Regions from separate parts of the Homo sapiens genome. Here regions 1 and 2 are each linked to region 3. Evidence: promoter capture Hi-C in 16 types of primary human blood cells and fetal thymus (Javierre and others, 2016). All regions are on one chromosome and are shown on one strand. The core of a region is centred on a gene start or on the middle of the fragment in contact, and the rest is flanking DNA. Distances in the headings are between cores, read along the strand shown.

Region 1 (4,904 bases), core at 409-2,908, 320 kb after region 3:
TGTATATATAAATATATATATAAAATATATATAAATATATATAAAATATATAAATATAAAATATATAATATATATATAAATATATATATACACATATACACACACACATATATACACACACACACCTTATTCCAACATGGAGGATATCTTGTATTTATATATATAAATATATATAATATATATTTTTATATATTTAAATATATTTATATATGTAAATATATATAATATATATTTTTATATATTTAAATATATTTATATATATTTATAACTATATATTTATATATAGTTATATATATTTATATATATTTATATATATATATATAAATACAAGATATCCTCCATGTTGGAATAAGGTGTGTGTGTGTGTGTGTGTGTGTGTGTGTGTGTATAATGGAATTCTACTCAGCCATAGGAAAGAAAGAAATGTCTTTTGTAACAGCATGGGTGGAACTGGAGGCCATTATCTTAAGTGAAATGACTCAGAAACAGAAAGCCAAATACCTCATGTTCTCACTTATAAGTGGGAGCTACACATGAACATACAGAGCGGAATCAAAGCCACTGGAGACTCCAGAAGTTGGGAGGATGAGAGGGAGTTGAGGGATGAGAAATTATCTGTTGGGTACAATTTACATCATTCAGGTATTGGTAACACTAAAAGCCTGGGGTTCACCACCATACAAAGTATCAATTTAACAAAACTGCACTTGTGCGCCTTAAATTTATACAAATAAAACAACTGCTATAGCAACCACTTTATGCCAGCATTATCTGGAAAAAACAAAAATATAAACAAACTGGAGATGTCCATCTTTGTACAAAAGCTTGAGTGCTCTTTCCTTGCTTTCATTTTATATTTTTATGGTAATGCTTCTAATCTGAATTTTATTTTAATTCTACTTAATTTTTGTCAGGCTGCCGAAATAGATTATATTTTTTCCTATGATATCTTTTGTTTTGTCATCTAAACCATTTGGGCTTTTTCTGTGGACAGAGTTCTTAAGTCAGACTACAAATGTTTATTGAATGTGTATTGTATTAAATGCTTTATCTTGGGTGTTCAAGAATAATGCAAAGCAGGAAGGACAAGTTTTCTATTTTTAAGAATATTGCTATTAGGCTGGCATGTTTAATTTAATGAACTATAAAGCAAAACTTTAAACTTCTTTTAGGTAGGACCAACTTTTGCTCACATGGTATAATTTTCTATGTATTTTTGGTGCATTGTCCATCCACATCCCTTCTCCCCACTTCTGGTAATTTTATCCTTCATTCTTCTCTCTAAACCCAATATCAGGTGTTTAATCCCACTTTGGAGTTCCATTTGGAGGTTTTTATTTTTAGTTTAATGTGTAGACCCCAAAGTCATATTAGCATTCAGTATCAAGAGCCAGAAGACCTCTAGGCCTGCAAGACCCAGAAGAGGCACCATTAATCAGGTATCACAAAAGTACTGGAGAGTGTATAGAACTTAGGCATTTGTGTTTAGGATGTTTCCTGATGGCTTTCCTTAAGTCATGTCATCTATCAGGAAACTGTTTCTGTAGCTTTTCAAGGCTGGCCCCACTTCTGGGTATTCTGTTTGCCTAAGCCTTCCTTCACCTTGCTCATCTTCCTTCAAAGGGGAATTCTAGTTTTAAGTGCTCAGCAGTGAATGTGTTTGGGGTACACAATTTCTACTTATTTATATTTTTCTTTAAGAAAATGAGTCCCCAAATAACTTGCGAGTGATTCTGCTGGTGCCCTACAGCCTGTTTGCAGCATAGCCAGAACTAGGATTCATATGGTTTTGACTCCTTGTTTAGTGCTCTTTTAATTATGTCACAGACTTTCATAGCCATAAACTTCTGTCACTTTGCAACACCACCGAGGAAAGAAACACTTCTTTGTGTGGTTTGGTACTTATTATTGTAATAATGTTTAATTAATAATATTTCTTGATAGCTATCATTAGTATGGACCACTAATAAAAAATGTAGAGATCACTGGACAAATAATGTTTTAATTTTAATTATGAAAACAATAAGAATAATCTTGAAAATGAATATTGAAGACCATATAATACTTCTTTCACTTAATATGCTGAGTCTTTTTTTGATCCCTCTTATGAACTGCTTATTATAAAAGTGCACAGTGACTCTGAACTTTTTCTCTAACAGGAGATTTGTTACTTTCTCTCCTGGGTTAGAAACTTTTCTTTCCACACCTAGAATTCAGAGTGTCTTTTATAAACCCAGACCTCTAGCATTTCTGGTACAGTAGTATATAGTCACCTCAGTTATCCTCCATGTTGGAAAACTTGCTTCTTTAGAAGATCAGGACAATAGACACATTAGATATATTTTTATGTATATATTTGCAACGGATGAATTATAATGTAAGAATTAATATACAGAAGTCAATTTCTAGGCTGAAACCACAGGTTCAAAGGATATGAATATATTTTTGGTACTTGGTAGAAATTATCTATTTTGCTTATTATAGTATTATAATAAGCTTATTATAGTGTTATCAATAATGACAAGATGTTAAATACCATTGGCATGTCCAGCATTATTAAAGGTATTGTTTTGGAATAAGTAATGGTAAATATAAGGGGTAGAATATTACTTGATTGTTAAAATATCCGTGAAACACTTACATGTTAAACAGACAAACAAAACTAGAAGACAAAATGGTATGCATGTTCCAATCCAGTTTCATTAAATTTATGCAGGTGGAAGATGGCTTGGAAGAGTGAAAACAGTTTTGCTGAGGACAGGTAAGGTATGGGTCATTCTGATATTATCTAATGTTATCTATATATCATTACCATATATACCATATCATTATCTAATGTCATCTATATATCATTACCATATATACTAATTATCTAATGTTATGATTTTTTTAGTTAAAAAGCAATACATTAGATAGTGTAATAACCATTTAATTTGGTTTATAAGTTACAGAAAAAAATTTTTTGTTACTTTGAAGTCACCATTTATTTTATCAAATGATGTAATTTTACCTCTCCAAGTAATTTAAACTCCCCAGTCCTTAGAATCTAGGTATAAATGAAGCTCAGAGCTCTCTTTCAATTGGATAATTAGCTCACGAGTGGTTGCTCTATTTCTCACTCACCTCATTCACATACAGGGCTCAGCTCTGAATTGCTTCTGGCTCATTCCAAAAGCCAAGTGCTCAAACATGAAGACTTCTTTTTATTGGAAGTATTTGAAAGGGCATGCCATATTCCAAATATGAATTCCAAATATGCTTTAAATAATGGCAGCATCAATAAAGTCCACTTTTCTCTAAGACTATTTTTTAAGAGGCCAAAACATTTGAATGAAGCAGTTGATTTCTAAAAAGTGACTTTTAATGTTTCTTGTACCTTCAATCATACCTAGACACTGAATGGATTTCAGAAAGTCATAGGGCCTGGGTGGAAGCCCCAACACAACAGCAGAGTGGAATCATGGATTGGCTATTCTATAATCCATTCGCCGTGACTGAGGGTGAGAAGTGGAATTCTATTTGAGGCTATATTTGAGAGCCATCTTTGAAAATGAAGAAGTAGTTTGGGCTCTGGGTATCTTTTCTTTCCTTTTTTTCCCCTTTTTTTCTGATACAGCCTTCAGCTGAATGAAATGTGGGCTTTGAGATCACCTGTGATAGCATTCTCTAAGACTGCAATATGTTGAAAACTGTCTTGTGATTACTTCATAATGGATATTTTCCAATGGATAACACTTAGAGTAAATCTGAGTTGCCAACAGCTTTCAGAAAGGCAGAGGTAACACTGTATGTAAAACGGAAGCTCCAAACCTGCGGTGTTATTAAAAAGCAATAATATTGCTTTAATATTATACCTCTGTCAGCATATAGACTTGTTTATTCAATGCTACTCTATTAATCTGTTCTTCAGGATGTTTTAGGAACTAAATTTAATGCACAAATATTTATTGAAACCTCTTTTAGCTGACTGTGTTAGTACTTGCAATGATAAAAAGACACAATTTGATTTTAACAAATTTATGATATAGGCAACAGATATGGGGGTGAATGGGAAGGGAGGGGACAGTAGGGCTAGTGGTGAAAAAGGGTTGAATGAAAACAGGTAAAAACAATGCACTGTGAACTCTGGAGGATGGATATCATTAACTCCTTTTTGAAAAGGTTTCATGAAGAAAACAACATTTGTAAATGTTCCATGAGCATGAAAGCATGGCAAGACATTTGATTTTGCCAATGCAGGCAGTCTGTTGTTGCTGGAGTATAGTATGAGTAAGAGAACGAGAGAGGGCAAAGGAGAAGATCATCCTATGGTTCATCATTCAAAATGATGAATCATTTCTGAACTAAATGTTATACAGATCATTAAATATGTCCATACAATGCAAGCTTTTATAAATAGTATATATAATCATTTAACTCAACTAACTAGCCTATATCTTAATATTTATTAAAATCATGTTTTATAAATATAATTTAATGTCCAAGAAAATGATACATATCACAAAGAATCTCAGGCCTGTCCCATGCAACATCTGAAAGGTTGGGAGAGCTGTACTGATGACAGTGTGGGCACAGCCAGGCTCACTGGGGGATGTCATGATCCACTGTGGATCCTGGGCTACATTAACTTTATATCACAAATTAGTCTATAAGAATTGGGTGAGCAAATTCTACATGCCAGGAGTTATGCTGGAAGCAGAAATACAATGAATTAGAGACTCAGTGTGTGCACTCACAGAGCTTAGAATCCTGAGACAGGGGTGAGGGTGTTTAGAGATAAAGATAAGTAACAGAAATTCCAGTACAGCGTGATATGTACCTGTTAAGAGAGGTGAAGAATGCTATGTGAGCATACAGTGGGGTATGTGACTCAGACAGGTCAGGGAAGTTGTCCTAAAAAAGTG
Region 2 (4,938 bases), core at 1,064-3,563, 370 kb before region 3:
AAGGCATGCACTGTTTAAATAAATTCTGACTTTTTATAAAAAGGCATGAATTTATTGCAGTGCCAACAGTAGTCAATCTCTTCTTTAGATATGTAGTTTTAAAATATATTGTTTCAAAAGAGCCAGATTCGTAACTGTTTTTGTGATTTGTTTTTGCTTAGACACCTACACAATCCTTCTATTCCAAACAATCTTCAGGTCATAAATCTTGGAATGGTTTCTGTGTTCTCTTGCCCTCTGCTGGCTAAATTGAGATCTTTCTTAGAACATGCCAATCAGACACACCCCGTGGGTCACAGATATACATCCTCCATCCTGCTCGTTTTTGGGTCCATTTGGCAAATGCCTCCTCAACAACTTTTATGCCAGAGATAAAAATCTAGCTTTAGATCCCCTGCTTCTCATCAAGATATCCATGACCTGGTGACTCTAGTTTATAACATCTGTCTGTTCTCAAGCATCTTTTGTATTTACCCCTTGCATCCTATGATTAGCAACTTATTATATCTTATAGCATTCCTGAATTGTCTCTGCTACATAATTAAGTAAATTATCATGCCAGTGAGTAAACATAAGATGTAACAATCTGTCTTGCTTATTAGTTGCTTGTTGTTTGTCTTGTTTCCCCAGTGTGACTGTCATCTCTCTAGGCTTTCATTCAACCCCATCAACTGGATCCCAAAGAGCCCTCGGCCATGGAAACTAGGCCCCTACACCTCTCCCAGACCTTCATGGGCTGCTGAAGGGCCCCTGGTGCCTGCTGTAACCGTGGCATTCACAGGCATCCCCTAGTCCCTCTGCAGTAGAGGGACATGGGGCAAAGTAGAGCACACATGCTTGGGGAAGTTCAGCCCTTCCCCAGTGGGCCATGCAGAAAAGGGTGAAGCAACACACGATCTGAGACCTGTGTTCTCCCCTCTCCTGCGGGGGGTGAACCCCAGCTGACATTCTTGAGGTTCTCCCACTGCTCTCTCCTCTCCCTCATGTAATACTCACAAGACTGGTGTTGTTCTGGGGTAGGCTGTGGAGCAACTCCTGCTCTTGAATGCCTCCTCCTCCATTTACATCTAAATTGAAATCTTTTTCAATTACTTTGTCTCCCAGTTATTCTGAAGATACATGTTATTTATTTATTTATTTATTTATTTATTGGCTCTCTTTGTTGAACTGTACTTTTTTTGTGCAGAGAGAAGGTGTATGGAGAGATTTGAATTTGGGTGGCTGGCGTTATTATCATATGGGAAATGGCAGAAGTTCTCTTCTGATGTTTTGCATTGTTTTGTTTTGTCAGTGAGGTAGAAAACAAGACAACCAGCTGAATGAGGATGGGAGAAGGGTGAGGGGAGAAGATGTGAATGATTATGTGAAGGAGCTGGAGATGGAAGGACAAGGTAGTGTGACACCCTAGCAGCATGAAGGCACCGCTTGCAGTTAGCAGTAGTAAATTTAAAGTAAGACCAGTCAGCATGATCGTGGAATTTTCTCCAGCAACGTTCAGCTGCATCCTGTTGTGGTTTTGCCAAATGAGTACAAAGAAATGTGCTAAGCAGATATGATAAAAACCTTAAAGCACTCCTGTGAAACACAAAAGTAGAAAGATGTGTCGTATTCTTGGATTAGACAATGAAGCATCATGAGGATGCCAGTTCTCCCAGGTTAATATATACACTTATTGTCATTACATTAAAAGTAACCATTTTTTTTTCTGGAGTCAGAGAAGTTGATTCTAAACTACATAAGATAAATTAACAAGCTGAATATTCAGGAAAACTCCTAAAAAGAGGCACTATAAACAAAAGGAATGAACTGGGTATTTAAATCAGAAAGAAATTTTAAACACGAAAATGACCCTAAAATATGTGAAAAGCTACTCAATCTAGCTTATATTAAGAAAAAAGTGAATGAAAAGCATTTAAAAATCTTACTGCTCATCTATTTGATTGGCAAGTTCAAAAAGGTTGCTAATATACTTTGTTGGTGGGGCTGTGGAAAAGTAGGTACTGTCATCATTATGGTTTAGGCCCTATGGGGAATAATTTGGAATTAACTAATAAAACTACATTTGCATTTACCTGTTGATTGAGCAATTCTACTTTTAAGAATCTCTACAAATTCAGAATATGTGAAGAAAGTTATTTATTGAGAGACATTATGTATAGTAGCATGTGATTATAAACAATCCAAATATCCATCTCCATGTTAATAGATTGGAAGAATCAATATTATTAAAATGTCCATACTACCCAAAGCGATCTACAGATTCAATGTAATCCCTATCAAAATAACACTGACATTATTCACAGAAATCAAAATTAAAAAACTAAAATGTATACAGAACCACAAAAGACACAGAATAGCCCAAGCTACCCTGAACAATAAGAACAAAACTGGAGGCATCACATTACATGACTTGAAATTACACTGCAGAACTATAGTAACAAAAACAGCATGGTACCGGCATAAAAACAGACACATAGACCAATGGAGCGGAATACAGAACCAAGAAATAAATACATACTCAACAGTGAACTCATTTTCGACAAAGGTGCCAAGAATATACACTGGGGAAAGGACAGTCTCTTTAATAAATGGTGCTGGGAAAACTGGATGTCCATATGCAAAAGGATGAAACTGGACCCCTATCTCTGGGTATATATAAAAATAAAATAAAAATGGATTAAAGGCTTAAATCTAAGACCTCAAACTATGAAACTACTAAAGAAAACACTGGGATTCAATACTATTCCCATCAAGCTACCCTTGACTTTCTTCACAGAACTAGAAAAAACTACTTTAAATTTCATATGGAACCAAAAAAGAGCCTGTATAGCCAAGACAATCCTAAGCAAAAAGAACAAAGGTGGAGACATCATGCTACCTGACTTCAAACTATACTACAAGGCTACAGTAAGCAAAACAGCATGGTACTGGTACCAAAAGAGACATATAGACCAATGGAACAGAACAGAGGCCTCAGAAATAACACCACAGATCTACAACCATCAGATCTGCGACAAACCTGCCAAAAACAAGAATGGGGAAAGGATTCCCTATTTAATAAATGGTGCTGGGAAAACTGGCTAGCCATATGCAGAAAACTGAAACTGGACCCCTTCCTTACACCTTATACAAAAATTAACTCAAGATGGATTAAGGACTTAAATGTAAAACCCAAAACCATAAAAACTCTAGAAGAAAACCTAGACAATACCATTCAGGACATACGCATGGGCAAAGACTTCATGATGAAAATACCAAAAGCAATTGCAACAAAAGCCAAAATTGACAAATGGGATCTAATTAAACTAAAGAGCTTCTGCAAGCAAAAAAAAACTATCATCAGAGTGAACAGATAACCTATAGAATGGGAGAAAATTTTTGCAATCTACCCACTTGACAAAGGTCTAACATCCAGAATCTACAAGAAACTTAAAGAAATTTACAAGAAAAAAACAACCACATCAAAAAGTGGGGAAAGGGTATGAATAGACACTTCTCAAAAGACATTTATGCAGCCAACAAACATATGGAAAAAAGCTCATCATCACTGATCATTAGAGAAATACAAATCAAAACCACAATGAGATACCATCTCACGCTAGTCAGAATGGCAATTATTAAAAAGTCAAGAAACAATAGATGCTGGTGATGCTGTGGAGAAATAGGAATGCTTTTATGCTATTGGTGTTAATGTAGATTGGTATAACCACTGTGGAAGACAGTGTGGCGATTCCTCAGGGATCTAGAACCAGAAATACCATTTGACCCAGCAATCCCATTACTGGGGTATATACCCAAAAGAATATAAATCATTCTACTATAAAGACACATGCTCATGTATGTTTATTGCAACACTATTTACAATAGCAAAGACATGGAACCAACCCAAATGTCCATCAATGATATACTGGGTAAAGAAAATGTGGTACGTACATACCATAGAATACTATGCAGCCATAAAAAACAATGAGATCATGTCCTTTGCAGGGACATGGATGAAGTTGGAAGCCATTATCCTCAGCAAACTAACACAGGAACAGAAAACCAAACACCGCATGTTCTCACTTATAAGTGGAAATTGAACAATGAGAACACATGGACACAGAGAGGGAAACAACACATACCAGGGCCTGTTGCGGGGTGGAGGGCAAGGGGAAGGAGAGTATTAGGACAAATACCTATTGCATGTGGGGCTTAAAACCTAGATGACGGGTTGATAGGTACAGCAAACCACCATGGCACATGTATACCTATGTAACAAACCTGCATGTTCTGCACATGTATTCTGAAACTTAAAGTAAAATTAAAAAAAAATGTGGTGCACACACAATGAAGTACTATTCAGCCATAAAAAATGAGATCTTATCATTTGCAACAACATGGATGGAACTGGAGGATATTATGTTAAATGGAATAAGCCAGGCATGGAAGGATAAATTTCACATGTTCTCACTCATTTGTGGGAGCTAAAAATTAAAACAATTGAACTGATGAAGATAAAGAAAAGAATAATGGTTATTGGTGGCTAGGAAGGGTAGTGGGGGTGGGGAGGAAAATGAGGATGGTTAATGGTTACTAAAATATAGTTAGAATGAATAAAATCTAGTATTTGATAGCACAACAGGGTGACTACAGTCAACAAAAATTTATTGTACATTTAAAAATAACTAAAAGAGTATAATTGGAATATTTCTAACACAAAGAAACGCTTGAGGTGATGAACACTCCATTTATCCTGAAGTGATTATTTGGCTTTGTATGCCTGTATCAAAATATCTCACATAACCCATAAATATATAAACCTACTATGAACCCATACAAATTGAAAAGAAAAAAAGAGAGAAAAACAATAACAAATATCCATCAACAGGGGACTTGTTAAATCAATTATGGTGCATCCACAAAATAGAGAACGAAATAGCTATGAAAAAGAAAAGT
Region 3 (4,291 bases), core at 1,378-3,877:
CTTGTTGCCCAGGCTGGAATACAATGGAGCGATCTCGGCTCACCGCAACCTCTGCCTCCCGGATTCAAGCGATTCTCCTGCCTCAGCCTCCCAAGTAGCTGGAATTACAGGCATGTGCCACCATGCCCGGCTAATTTTGTATTTTTAGTAGAGATGGGGTTTCTCCATGTTGGTCAGGCTGGTCTTGAACTCCCGACCTCAGGTGATCCGTCCGCCTTGGCCTCCCAAAGTGCTGGGATTACAGGTGTGAGCCACTGCACCCGGCCATATCCTGCATATTCTTTAAACAAATTTACATTGTTGACTTCTCTCACCTTCCAAACCATTCCTTTTTGCAGGCATCCAAAGACTAACTCCCCAGATTTTTTTTCTTAATTTATTGGTTTCCCCTCCTCGGTCTCCTTGAAGGTTCTTCATTCTCAACCCATCCTTTGGATGTTCAACCCCAAACCTAGGCTTTTCTCTCACTATATACTTTCTCTAAGCAATGTCATTTATTTCTATGTCTTTGATTATTATCTCTCTACTTAAGTGCACACATATATTAATCTACCTATAGAAAATGAAGCACCAGCTCTGTTCTGCACTGTTAACAGAGGTAAATACCTGGAAACAAAGTAAATGTAAACATGTAAAAAAAAAATTAGTGAAGTACAGTGCATCCATATAATGCAATATATGCAGTTACCTTCCTATGGACCAAAATCAACATGGCAGATTGTTTTTAAATGGCTAATTTACAAAACTCTTCCCCATTCTGATCTTCTTCAAAAGACAGCCTGAGTTAGAGAATAACAGAAAAACATTACATTCCTTTTCAATCGGTTTGCCGTCACTAATGATTCAATGGACAATTATTCCAGAGGTAGATGAAAATGGACCATAGAGGAGTCAATATGCATATGGGAAAAGCTAACCAATCACTGCCAGAGTCTGATTATTTCATAAAACCTTACATACTATTCTAACCCTCCTCTCCACCATCATCTACATTTAATCCTCACCAAGTCCTGTCTACTATTCTTCCTAAACATTTTTTAAATGTTTCTACTTCTCGTCCCCAGGGTCACCATCCCAATTTTGGCCACCATCATGTTGAACATTTCCCTGTATCCACTCTTGCCCTCTCTAAGAAGTGTACTTTTTAAAACCAAAATTTAGCACTCCACTATGTAAAATGCTCCAATGGCGTCCCATCACCCTTAGCAATAAAGTCAAAACTCCTTACAGTGCCTTATAAGGCACTCCGTGTTGGGCCTGAATAACTCTCCTGCCTTATCTGTTACCAGTTTTCCTCTCACACTTTATTTTCCAACCTTACTGACCTTTCAATTACAAACTGCACAAATGCTATTCCCTTGCCAGGTACACTCCTTTTCCTCCTCCTGGCCCCACCCCAGTGCTCACACCTGGCTTATTCCAACTCTTCAGGTCTCAGATAAATCATTTTCTTAAGAGATTATCCCTGCCCCCTCCCCATTACATGACCCCCATACTTTCTCTGTTACATACCATCACTTATTTCATGTCTGCATTTCCCACTAGATCAAAAGGTCTCTGAGGGTTTGTCTTCAATACTGTACACCCAGTGACTAGCAAAAATCCGGCATCAAGAAGGTATTCAATAAATACTTGTTGAAAAATAAAGACTAATAAAGAAATAACTACATTTAACAACAATAGTCACCATTGGACACTTACTAATGCCTAAAGAGAATACAGAACTTAGCTATATCCCACAACTAATAACTAGTAGAACTAAGGGAGAGTCCATGAATGTTTGGTTTCTATTTCAGCTTTCCACCAGTCTTTACTTAATTCACCCAAATTCTTCCAAACCAATTCTCTCTCCATGTCCTACCTCTAGGGAATGGCTTGAGGCATACCGTATCACTTGCATTATCTTTCACTCAGAAACTCTGTCCCATCTAGAAGTGTCAAGGCTGAAAGAACTACACTGAAAAAACAGGGAATTTCAGTGCTTCAGTTCTGAATTACTGATAACTCTTTGAGCCATCTCATACGAGGAAAATGTCATCTAGAATATCAAACTCCTCAGCACTAGAGCAGCAACAGCAATTTCTCTCCCTTTCGGCCTCCTTCTAGCGAGATGTGGGAGGTCCGACAAGGAGCTTGGCTGTTCTCCACCATCCTCTGCCTCGGAGAACGCGACCACAACGTGGCGCCCAGTTGAGGGGGAACCCTTGCGAAATACGGAGAGGCGCTCCCACACCCTCCAATCTCCAACCACCACTGTCAACTCCTCCAGAGGCAGGTATCCTACCCCGGCCCTGGGAGGCCGACTGGGCGGAGCTTGGGGTCCGGACCACGCGGAGCCCTGGCAGTGTCTATGCCTAGATCTCGCCGCCCTGCCGTCCACCCATTTCTCCCTACCTGACTCGGCCGTCGCCACCAACGCGCTCTCCCAACCCTCGGAGTCAGTTCCAAAACCAAACCAAAAAGGAGGAGAGCAGACAAGGCTTCAGCCTGCGACTGAGAACAGGGAGGCGGCACGCCTTGGGGAACGAGGGCCCGAGGCCATACGCGCTAATACAGGCCAGTGTCGGCGTAAACTTTCTCCGTTACCGGCCCGGCCGCGACCGCCATGTTTCCGCCGCCGAAATCCGCGACGGTACGGAACGCCGCCGGGGTCAAACTGCGCGGCGCGCCTCCTTCCCGAGGCCCGGCCCCCTCCCCGCCCAAACCCGCGCGCCGCCACACACTCAGGTGAGCAAGGCGCTGCGCGAGTGTCAACTGCCCCACCTAAGGCGCCTGCCTTCCTCAAGCCAAAGTCGACTCCTGGGACCTGGAATCAGCAGCTGAGAACAGACAGCGGGAAGACCACCAAAGATCAGGCTGACAGTGCCCATCAAGCATCTAGGCCACCGCCTCGGGCTGGACCGAACGGGGACAGGGTGGACAGGACTGCCACGCGTGGGCTGTAAATACTGCGGGAGGCGTTGCTGCTCATTAATATATATGGCATAATATATGGCTTTGTAACCAGCTAAGGCCCAAGCTCCTTAGGCCCTCCCTCAGACCTTTCAGTTCCTCAAATGCAGGGACATGTCGGGTTTTGCTCAACATTAAATCACCTTAGCATAGTGCCTGACACATAGTTGGCACTTAAATATTTGTAAAATAATAATATGCAATAGGCTCTCCACGATCCGTAGTTCTCTCCTCCCACTTGTTTTGCATGTATTATCTATATATTTTTCCTATTTTCCATAATAGAGTGTGAATTTCCTAATTTTCATAATAGATGTTGGGGGTTGGTGTGGCCAGCACATCTATAGGAATGAACAACTCTCAGATTGAGATTCTGCATATGTGGATGAAAATTTTGAGTTAGATTCTCTCTAGACTCCTGATTTTAAAAGCAATCACAACTCAACTTCCCAAATCTGTAACTAGCTCTCTGGGGAACACGAGTGCCACATTTCCAACTACCTGCTAGATGTTTCTACTCAAATATATTGTCATCACTTCCAACTCAACTTGCCTTTAATGGACATTTATATACATTTATTATGCCCCCCATTTGAATCCCCTTCCGTATTTGGAGAATTCCCCACCTGAGTTAAGAGTCTAATGGCTGCCGCTGAAATGCTGAACACTTGTTTAACTAATCATGTGTACCCGCTGGAAGCCATGAGTCAAAAAAGGCACAGAAAGCTACACTCCCAGGTCACCTGTAGGAGTATAGCAAGTGTAGAGATCGAGAACCCATCCCTAACAGCAAGGTAAGCTTCCGAGGCAGTAGTGAGAGTGCTGGCATCCACCATTAACATGTCAGAGATGCAAGATGCCTGTGCTTGGTGAGGGTCACAACCCCAGAGCCCTTTCCCAATCTGTTCTGTAGCCTGTTAACAGTCTCTGTGTACATTTCTGGGTAGCCTGTGACAGACTCTGTACTACATAGCTGTGAGGCAGGACAATAGGGTCTGGAGGCAAGGAACTTACGGCTGATTCATGCTGACTTTCTAGAACTAAATCAAAAGGAAAGCCCCAACTTTCCACAGCTAAGTAACAAAGGGACCCGGCCCCCTCCCCCACCACCGCCCTTTTCTGCGTGGCAGACGGAAAATTGAAAGTACCTCGGATTGGTTGCTTTCCATAACTAATTAAATGTTTGCATAGGGTGTAACCTTTGTAACTTCGCTTCAGGCTCTGATTGGTTGCTTTCCGCTATCAGACTGATTGTGGGCCACTATATTTGCGTGGGGTGTACACCAAGTGGCCAATGGGAAACCTCTAGAGGGTGTTTATACCCCAGAAAATTCTATAA

Evidence for each region. Contacts are between HindIII fragments. The CHiCAGO score rates a contact against its expected background, and 5 or more counts as called.
Region 1: a fragment that was not itself captured here is called in contact with the fragment with the promoter of TMEM168 in region 3 in 3 of 17 cell types (total CD8 T cells, naive CD8 T cells and activated CD4 T cells); the score reaches 9.4 in total CD8 T cells.
Region 2: a fragment that was not itself captured here is called in contact with the fragment with the promoter of TMEM168 in region 3 in 1 of 17 cell types (fetal thymus); the score reaches 5.8 in fetal thymus.

The regions. Positions count from the first base shown.
Region 1 is chr7:113,105,039-113,109,942 of GRCh38, forward strand. It overlaps LOC107986837, which reads left to right. Exons shown (of 4, transcript XM_047421162.1): 2 at 2,717-2,761. Among named protein-coding and RNA genes, the nearest start is that of SMIM30, 11 kb to the right of the region's middle. The HindIII fragment of the contact is 1,672 bases long and covers 823-2,494 here.
Region 2 is chr7:112,414,840-112,419,777 of GRCh38, forward strand. LOC105375457 (a long non-coding RNA gene) reads right to left here. Exons shown (of 3, transcript XR_001745325.2): 3 at 2,122-4,938. Among named protein-coding and RNA genes, the nearest start is that of IFRD1, 33 kb to the right of the region's middle. RefSeq lists enhancers at 291-792, 793-1,292. The HindIII fragment of the contact is 6,333 bases long and covers 1-4,938 here.
Region 3 is chr7:112,787,766-112,792,056 of GRCh38, forward strand. TMEM168 (transmembrane protein 168) reads right to left here and starts at 2,628. Exons shown (of 5, transcript NM_022484.6): 1 at 2,395-2,628. RefSeq lists an enhancer at 2,887-3,016. The HindIII fragment of the contact is 5,754 bases long and covers 1-3,749 here.